Regions from separate parts of the Homo sapiens genome. Here all the other regions are linked to region 3. The links are contacts of gene promoters, found by promoter capture Hi-C in blood cells and fetal thymus (Javierre and others, 2016). All regions are on one chromosome and are shown on one strand. The core of a region is centred on a gene start or on the middle of the fragment in contact, and the rest is flanking DNA. Distances in the headings are between cores, read along the strand shown.

Region 1 (2,857 bases), core at 312-2,811, 610 kb after region 3:
CTGCTGCCTGGGACACTGTTGCCATGTCAGTCCCACAAACACGTGGAAGATCTAAAATTTCTGCCATGGTCAGTTAGGGCGATAAATAGTTAATCCCTTCTGCAAGTTAAAGACTATTTAGCACAACCTTTTCCAAGTATCTTGTAGAAGAAACAAGTCCTATGGCTAAACAAGTTTCAGAATCCCTGAATGCTCCAGCCGTCTTTCAAAAATTCAAGCTATGAGGGGTCCTGCAGTTTAAAAAATCCCTCACTTGGTTTAACCCAGTGCTTAGCAGATTTATTTCACCATGGAATCCCGTTTTCAAGTTAAAACCTATTTTTTAATTTATAGTGTATCTAAAACCTACCACGAAAAGCATACGTGTAGTGCAAAGCCATATTTTGAGTTACACATTTTTGAAATGGCACATTCCTCCTCATTCCTTCATTTGTATTCCACAGTATTAAGCACTTATTGTTTACAAGGCCCTGGGATGCACTTGACCTTCTTTCACAATCTCAACCTTGATGTGCTCTCCAGACAAAAGAGCACTCCCAGGAAGAAAAATGTTCTAACGACCTTACAGGCACCTTTGACCCTGTGACTTATCTTTGGAAAAGCGACAGGAGATTTGTTTATAAGCAAAGGTGGTGCTCTAGGGAAGGAAGCCAGGAAAGAGAATCCTCCCCACTCACCTTCACGGACTTTTGTCTGGCGATGTCCAGGGCTTGCGTCTCCTTGGGAGAATTTTAGACTATTAATCGTGAAAAGGAGTTCCCTCTCCTTTCATTCATTCCCCCGGGGGATGGATACCAATGGGTACCAGACCTAGCATTCCTTTCAACACAGGGGATTAAGGGGCGTGTGGTAAGAGGATCCATTTCAAAGAGCTGGTAGAAGATGATCAATGATCTAGGAAATCAGAGTTGAAGAAGGAACATCAGTGCCTTGAAATGTTCCCTAGAGCTCTGACCCCCACAAGGGTTTTAACTAAATGGCTACTTAGTTTATTGGATTTACCCACATAGCACATATTTAAATGAAATGGATGGAGGAAAGAACCTCTGCACTACATGGCAGAAAAATGACAAAAAGCTTTTGAAGGTCAGGGAACATAGCACAATCACTTTAGACTGGTGAGAAAATGAAATTCTTCTCAAGACCTTGTAGACCTGATGGTGCTATCAATTTTAAAACCAGTGTAGTGCTGTGGGAGGCGTGTGTTTCATACTAAGTGACTTGTACTGAATTGTAATAGCTTTGAGCATCCACTTGAGACCTTAATGAATGAGTTACATAAAATGTTAATATCATTAATGCCAGAGAAATTATTTATTTATTACTATCATCACATATTACAAAGCAGAGCTACCAAATCCTTGGCAAAAAAAAAAAAAAAAACACGAAAAAATCTTATTTTGGTGATTGTCTTTCACAGAGAAACAATCCAGTAATACCTAAAAGGAAAAGTTGACTAATTATGGAATTCATTTTTGCTCCCGAAATTCTTTGCTAGCCAATCTCATCTATGTGTAACCCTGCACAGTATAAAATATTATCTGAACTTTTTTAGCAAACTGAACAAACATGAAGAAGTTTGTATCTCTCGATGCATTTTTTTTTTTTTTTTTTTGAGACAGGGTCTCCTCTGTCACCCAGGCTGGAATGCAGTGGTGTGATCACAGCTCACTGCAACCTCGATCTCTCAGCCTCAAGCGATCCTCCTGTCTCAGCTTCCTGAGTAGCTGAGGCTACAGGTGCATGCCACCACACCTGATACATTTTTTTTTCACTAGTAATGAGGTCTCACTATGTTGCCTTGGCTGGTCTTGAACTCCTGAGCTCAAGCGATCCTTCTGTCTCAGCCTCCCAAAGTGCTGGGATTACAGGTATGAGCCACAACTCCCAGATCAATTTTTTTTTATGTAGTATTTTCCAGGCTTAACCTACACATTTTACTGTGAGATGAAAACATCTGTCATATATAATAACAATGCACCAAATTCCAAAATAGTTTGGTGAAGGGCTATTTTCAATGTTTGGCAATGCTATTAAATATATGAAGAAGCTTTCAACTGCAGAAGATAATCATCCGTGAGGAGTGTGTGTGTGGATGTGTAGATGAAAGCATCCTTTGCTAGAGTGTTTGTATATGTGTATATGTATGTGTAAATAACATTTACTAGGGCTACATTAACCAAATACCACAGACTGGGTGGCTTAACCAACAGAAATTTATTTTCTACTTTCTCCAGAGGTTGGAAGTCCAAGATCAAGGTGTCGGCCTGTTTGATCCCTTCTGAGTTCTCTTCTTCCTGTGTTCTCACATGGCCTTTCCTCTGGGCACCAACTCCTGGTGCCTCGATTTTCCATCCAAGGTTTCTTTTCTTATAAGGATAACCAGTACGACTGGATTAAGACCCACCCTAAGAGTCTCGTTTTAAGCTAAGCACCTCTTCAAAGGCCTTGTCTCAAATACAGTCACTGAGGTACCGGGCATTAGAGCTTCAACCTAGGAATTTGGGGGATACAGCAACTTAGCCCATAGCACATAGTATATATAGAAATGCATAATTGGAAGGAAAATTGTAAGTATTGTCACCACTGTTAATATTTTTCCTCCATGTGTGTGCCATCATTTAGACTGCTCAAGTGAGATGCCAGTGTAAAAATTTTCACCTAAAATTAAGTGATGATCAGTAGTTCATAAGGAAAACTTTAGTCTAAACAGTAGTTTACTTAAAACCATTACTCCAGGAAGCCTTTTGTATTCTTTCTTATTTAAATAATTATAAAATAATTTGCATCCATACATGGTTAGTTAGGAAATGGGGGAAAATGCAGAAATATGATTTCAAAGAAAACGTTGACTTCA
Region 2 (2,851 bases), core at 72-2,571, 680 kb after region 3:
TATTTGGTAAGGATGTGCTGTCTGTCATTTACAGTTCAAAAGCCAAAATCAAAATTAACGTGATAATCTCTTCTAATTCAGAAATTTCACAATCTGTTGTTTCATCCTCTGCCTCTTAACTCTTCAGGGTCAGGAAACAACAGCAGTAAACTCCACACCTTGGATCCCAGTGGTAGAGTCAAGGTACTCCGCAAAGACTTCTGGATGACCTTGAGTCTGGGGGTAAAGTTACACACAGCACTGTCTGGTAGGACACTCTGGTTCTCTAGTTATAATGCTAGGGACATGACTCTGCCTGCCTACTCCTCAAAAAACTGAGCAAAAAATTGGCCTCACCCCAGTGTTTGGCACCAGAATGAGTACCCGGTATGAATCTTTGTCCGCAAACATTTATATTTGTTTTAAAGCCACTGTGAGCCCCTAGCTGTTCTTCATTTTTGTCATTGCTGAGCTCTCCTTTCCTTCCCAGAGCTGCACCAGATTTAAGGAAGCTTATACAATACCCAGTAAGGCAAACCACCTTGACTATGGTCTCACCAGCACACCCCACTGTCCCAGACCACAGTGGCCCCTTTGATGCCCAGCAGCTCTCTGCTTCCTCCATGACCTCTGCAAGTAGGAGAATCTTTGTGGAGGCTGTGAATCCCAGTCCCATCACTTCTCTTCCTGTGACATCCCTTAAGTCTTCCTTCCTAGGGTCTTCTGCCTCCCAGAAGAAAGCCGGGGAGCCATGCTTCTCTACGACCTTTGCACCTCGCCCTCCTCCTAGACCAGGGGAAGTGTTTTCCTACATGAAAGCACCACCACACCCACCATGGCTTGTTTCACAGAGACATTCTTTCCTCAAATTCCATCTCCCCTTTGGAAATCAGGCTTTTAGAAAACACCAGGAAGCCTTGCACGCTAGGTCTGTTTTCTACCATACTAAGGCGCGGAGGCATGGAGAGACATAGGAAAAGGAGAAAAATACACAGAAGGAGAAAAAGGGGGAAAAACTCTAAATTAAAACCTCCGAACCCTGTTGCTAATATGTATGGTAGTGATAAACATAGCACTTTGCATTCCTCAGGAGCATCTAGCCTGCTCTTCAAGAAATTGAATCAACATCGGGCAAAGAGAAGAAACTTGGGGTTTCTTTTTTTATTTTATTTTATTTTTTTTTTTTTGAGACGGAGTCTCACTCTATTGCCAGGCTGGAGTGCAATGGCACGATCTCGGCTCACTGCAGCCTCTGCCTCCTGGTTCAAGCAATTCCCCTGCCTCAGCCTCCCAAGTAGTTGGGACTACAGGCATGGGCCGCCACGCCCGGCTAATTTTTTTTTGTATTTTAGTAGAGACGGGGTTTCACCGTGTTGACCAAGATGGTCTCAATCTCCTGACCTTCTGATCCACCCGACTTGGCCTCCCAAAGTGCTGGGATTACAGATGTGAGCCACCACACCCAGCCAAACTTTGGGTTTTCAATGCCTTGGTTTTGTAAGAAAGGGGCAGGAAGGTTAAAGGTTCATTTTCAAGGCACCACTGACTCACCCTTTACAGATTGCTCTTAAAATCATTTTAATTTGTTAGAAAATGTAAATTGATTTTGCATCCTTTTTCCTGTAAATTGTCTGCACACAAGTAAAAGTCACTAATACTCAAAAAGACTTTTTTTTTTTTTTTTTTTTGAGATGAAGTCTTGCTCTGTTGCCCAGGCTGGAGTGCAAATGGCACTATCTTGGCTCACAGCAACCTCTGTCTCCTGGGTTCAAGCGATTCTCCTGTCTCAGCCTCCCAAGTAGCTGGGAGTACAGGCGGATGCCACCATGCCTGGCTATTTTTTTTTTTTTGTATTTTTGTGGAGATGGGGTTTCACCATGTTGGCCAGGCTGGTTTCGAACTCCTGACCTCAAGTGATCCACCCGCCTCGGCCTCCCAAAGTGCTGGGATTACAAGCGTGAGCCACAGTGCCTGGCCTAAAAAACTTCAATAACTCTCTCTGGAAAAGAATCAGTATTTACCTGTAGAGCCACTTTTGTGCTCCAATGACCTTAGCTGAGTTCGTCATAGGCCACATGGGCTAAGCTGGTGTCCCTCAATTTAGTAAAACACAGTCTATAAAATCCCACACTTGTAAAACACTCATTTGGCAAGTGGTTTTGCAAAAGTTGTAAAAGCTTACAAGTGGATATGCCAGGGATTCCTTTAAGTATCAAGATGTCCTTGAGTTTTCCAAAAATATGACTCAATTTAGAATCATGGAGGTATTGTAGCTTTTCAAAAGTATATCTTTGTAAAAGTACATGTGCCTGTACTCAGTGAAATGAATGTTAAGCCAGATAGAACATGAGATTTCACCAATAGGAAAGAAGAAAACTCCCTGCCAGACCTAAATAGTTGTTTCACCTATTTGGAAGAGTTGCAGAGTATGCAAAAGTGACTCAGCAAGTCACAGACACCAGCACAGAGGTGGACTCGGTTATGAGGCAGGACTCGTACAACAGGTTCTGAAGGCCCAGAGGTTAATGAAGTGGTTAAGCTAAGGGTAGCCCTCCCCAGGCTCCTGAGGAAGGAAAGTCAACAAGGACTTTTAGATATCTCCCCAGCAAAATCATATATTTCCTCTTGAAAAGTTACTGTTTTTTGACCAGGTTTGCATTCTTCTGGGTCTCTTGGTTTGTAAATAATTGTTTTCGTGCATTTAAGCAGTTAATCTGGCAAAGCTAATACTAATTTGACATAGCCAGGGACTAGAGAAAATGCAGTAGACATAACTGTTTTCCTGGGTAAAATTTTATAAAACTAAACATTTTAGAAAGCCCTACTCATGTGTAGATGTGGGAGGGATGGACTCTCCCTGCAGGAGAAAAAC
Region 3 (2,700 bases), core at 151-2,650:
ACTTCCCAAGGTCGGGCGAGAGACTGGCACGCCCCACGGGCAATCTTCAGAAAAAAAGGTCAGATCTGGTCCTTAAACAGCTCAGGTGCGAAGCTGAATCGCCCTTCTGCGGAAAGAGAGGAGACAGTACCTGCCCCCGCCGTCCCTCACTTCCCTTAGTCCCAAGAAGAGGTCAGACACCGGGAAATGGGGCCCAGGCGCTTGGTCTGTTCCACCTGCCACTCGAGTCCCCAGTCCCAAGAGGCTGCTCAGACATTGGCATGATGGGGAAACTCGATTGATTTTGTTACCTCCTAGAGGGAAAATGCCGTGGGCGGAGATGTCTGAGCGTCCCTTCCAACACGAGCTGGGTGGTGCTCTATTGATTTTCACGCGATCCCCGGGCGGGAGCGAGAGGATAGGCTCGGATTCCCGGGCTCCAGGACCGAACGCCTGGCAGTGTCCCCGGGGGCAAAGCCACCCCGGGAGCCCGTGCAGTATACTAGGTGGGGGGCCCGGAGAGAAAGCATAGCGCCGACGAGGGGGAGGGGCCGGGCAGAAAGGAGGGTGGGGTACCGGGTGGGACACACTGACCTAGGAGAAAGTACAACCCACCCCAAACTTTCGCAGACCCGGGAGCTTAGGAAGGGAGAGCCAGGAAGACAGCAGCCTCTCCTGCCGCCCAACGTGCCCAGCTGCAGCGAGGAGGGGCGGCGCGCAAGCCGGCTGGACCCGGGCGGTCCCCACGTTGCGCCCACCCTCCGGGCCAAAACGCCGCCGCTCGGGTCACTGAGTGGCCGCCCACGGAAGAAGTCAGATCGCCGGGCTCTGGGCTGCGTACGGGATCCGAGGAAGGGGGATTCAAACGCGGATCCGGAAGGAAGGGACACTGAACCCCGCAGCGTCCCCAGCGCCGTGGGGCGGCGGGACGTGTCCTTGGGCTGCCAGCGGGCGCGGAAGCTGGAGTCCGGCAGGGTCGGGAAGAAGTGAGCACAGACTTCCACGGGTAGAAGAGTCAGATTAAACAGAAATGTGAAAAGCAACCCAGGGCAGCCAACGGAGCCCAGCAGCGTAGAAGCCACCGGCTTCCCGCCGGGAGGACTACAGTGACTGACACTCGCGAAGACTAGGCGCTCCCAGCGGCCGCGGGTCTGCGTGGAGAAGTCGCCTCGCGGCGCGGAGCGCGCCAGCGGCGGCGGCGGCTGCCAGAGCGCGAGATGCGGCGCGCAGCCGCCGGACCGTCCCGGCTGGGAAAACTCGCGGGCGGCACTGCGCAGCGCTGACCCGGCGCAGGTCCGAGGGGTGTGCCCCGGCCCCTCCCGTCTCCGCCCCCTCCCGCGCCAGTCGCGCGCCCCTCCCCGCGGCGGCAGCGTCGGCGGCGCATCCAGGGGCGGCGCGGAGCCTTGCTCAGCCCAGCAGCCAGTGCCTGCGAGCTCCGCTGCTGCTTGGGGAATTCACTTTGCTGCTTGTTCGCTTCTCCCTTCCTCAGGCTTCTTCTGATGGTTTTCCGTCTCCTGCCCGAGCCTTTCCTTTAAAAGGAAAACTTTACTGCGATACCCTTTTCCCCTTGGAGGAGAGGATTAAAAGTTCCAAGAACTGGTGCCGCCCGTGCCATTTGGGCGCTGGGAAGGTGCTCGGCGGCGGGGTTCCCGGTCCCACCATGTGCACCAACATAGTTTACGAGTGGCTCAAAGCGCTGCAGCTTCCGCAGTACGCGGAGTCCTTCGTGGATAACGGCTACGATGACCTGGAGGTGTGCAAGCAGATCGGGGACCCGGACCTGGATGCCATCGGGGTGCTGGCGCCCGCGCACCGCCGCCGTATCCTGGAGGCCGTGCGCCGGCTGCGGGAGCAGGACGCCAACGCCGCCGGCCTCTACTTCACGCTTGAGCCGCAGCCGGCGCCCCCCGGGCCGCCCGCCGACGCCGTCCCCACCGGCCGCCGGGGGGAGCCGTGCGGCGGCCCGGCCCAGGGCACCCGCGGGGACTCTCGCGGCCACACGACCGCCCCCCGCAGCAGGGAGCTGGTGAGCTACCCCAAACTGAAGCTGAAGATCATGATCAGGGATAAGCTCGTCCGTGACGGCATCCACCTGAGCAAGCCCCCGTACTCCCGCAAGGTAAGGAGGTGCCGTCCGGGCGGCCCGGGGCGCGCGGCGGGAGGGGACACAGCCCAGCTGCCTGTGCCAAGGCTTTGCAACCCATTCCAGGTGACGACGGAGAGGCCAGGAGGCTTTGGGTATCTGGGACCCTTTTCTATGTTCTTTCTGTATTAGCCCATTATTTCGTCCTTCCTGGTGTCTCCAGTGGTTGGTAAGACAAGCCCCCGCATCCAGATGTTATCTCTAAACTAACGACCAAAACTCCGCATCCTCTCTGGTGCTCGCCTGTCAGGAATCGGACTCGCGCTGCTTCACCTGGTAGCCAGGGGGAATTCCTAACGCCCTCTATAGTAGTTTTGGGTTTGAAGAGTACCAGAAAAAATGGTTAATACCTACATTGCTTTCTACCTTCCTTTTTCTCTTTCTTTTCCTTTTTTGAGTCTTGAGAAACTCCTAAGGGAAATCGGTGAACTCTTTAAAGAGTGGAAAGTCAGGCCCTGCCTTTCTCAATTCCATAAAAAATCCCAGCGCTGCTGCAAATTTGAGAAGCTTACCATTCACATGAGCATTTTAAGAGGAAAAGTGAAGGAAGCACGTGTCAGTCCACTTGAGATGATTTC

What was found. The method cuts DNA at HindIII sites, captures the fragments that hold promoters and counts their contacts. A CHiCAGO score of 5 or more calls a contact.
Region 1: a fragment that was not itself captured here is called in contact with the fragment with the promoter of SAMD5 in region 3 in 1 of 17 cell types (M0 macrophages); the score reaches 5.3 in M0 macrophages.
Region 2: a contact is called between a fragment that was not itself captured here and the fragment with the promoter of SAMD5 in region 3, in 1 of 17 cell types (megakaryocytes). The highest score is 5.2, in megakaryocytes.

Annotation. Positions count from the first base shown.
Region 1 is chr6:148,121,459-148,124,315 of GRCh38, forward strand. No RefSeq gene overlaps it. Among named protein-coding and RNA genes, the nearest start is that of SASH1, 220 kb to the right of the region's middle. The HindIII fragment of the contact is 973 bases long and covers 1,076-2,048 here.
Region 2 is chr6:148,189,545-148,192,395 of GRCh38, forward strand. No RefSeq gene overlaps it. Among named protein-coding and RNA genes, the nearest start is that of SASH1, 150 kb to the right of the region's middle. The HindIII fragment of the contact is 1,665 bases long and covers 490-2,154 here.
Region 3 is chr6:147,507,290-147,509,989 of GRCh38, forward strand. It overlaps SAMD5 (sterile alpha motif domain containing 5), which reads left to right and starts at 1,401. Exons shown (of 2, transcript NM_001030060.3): 1 at 1,401-2,098. The coding sequence starts at 1,640. The HindIII fragment of the contact is 12,433 bases long and covers 1-2,627 here.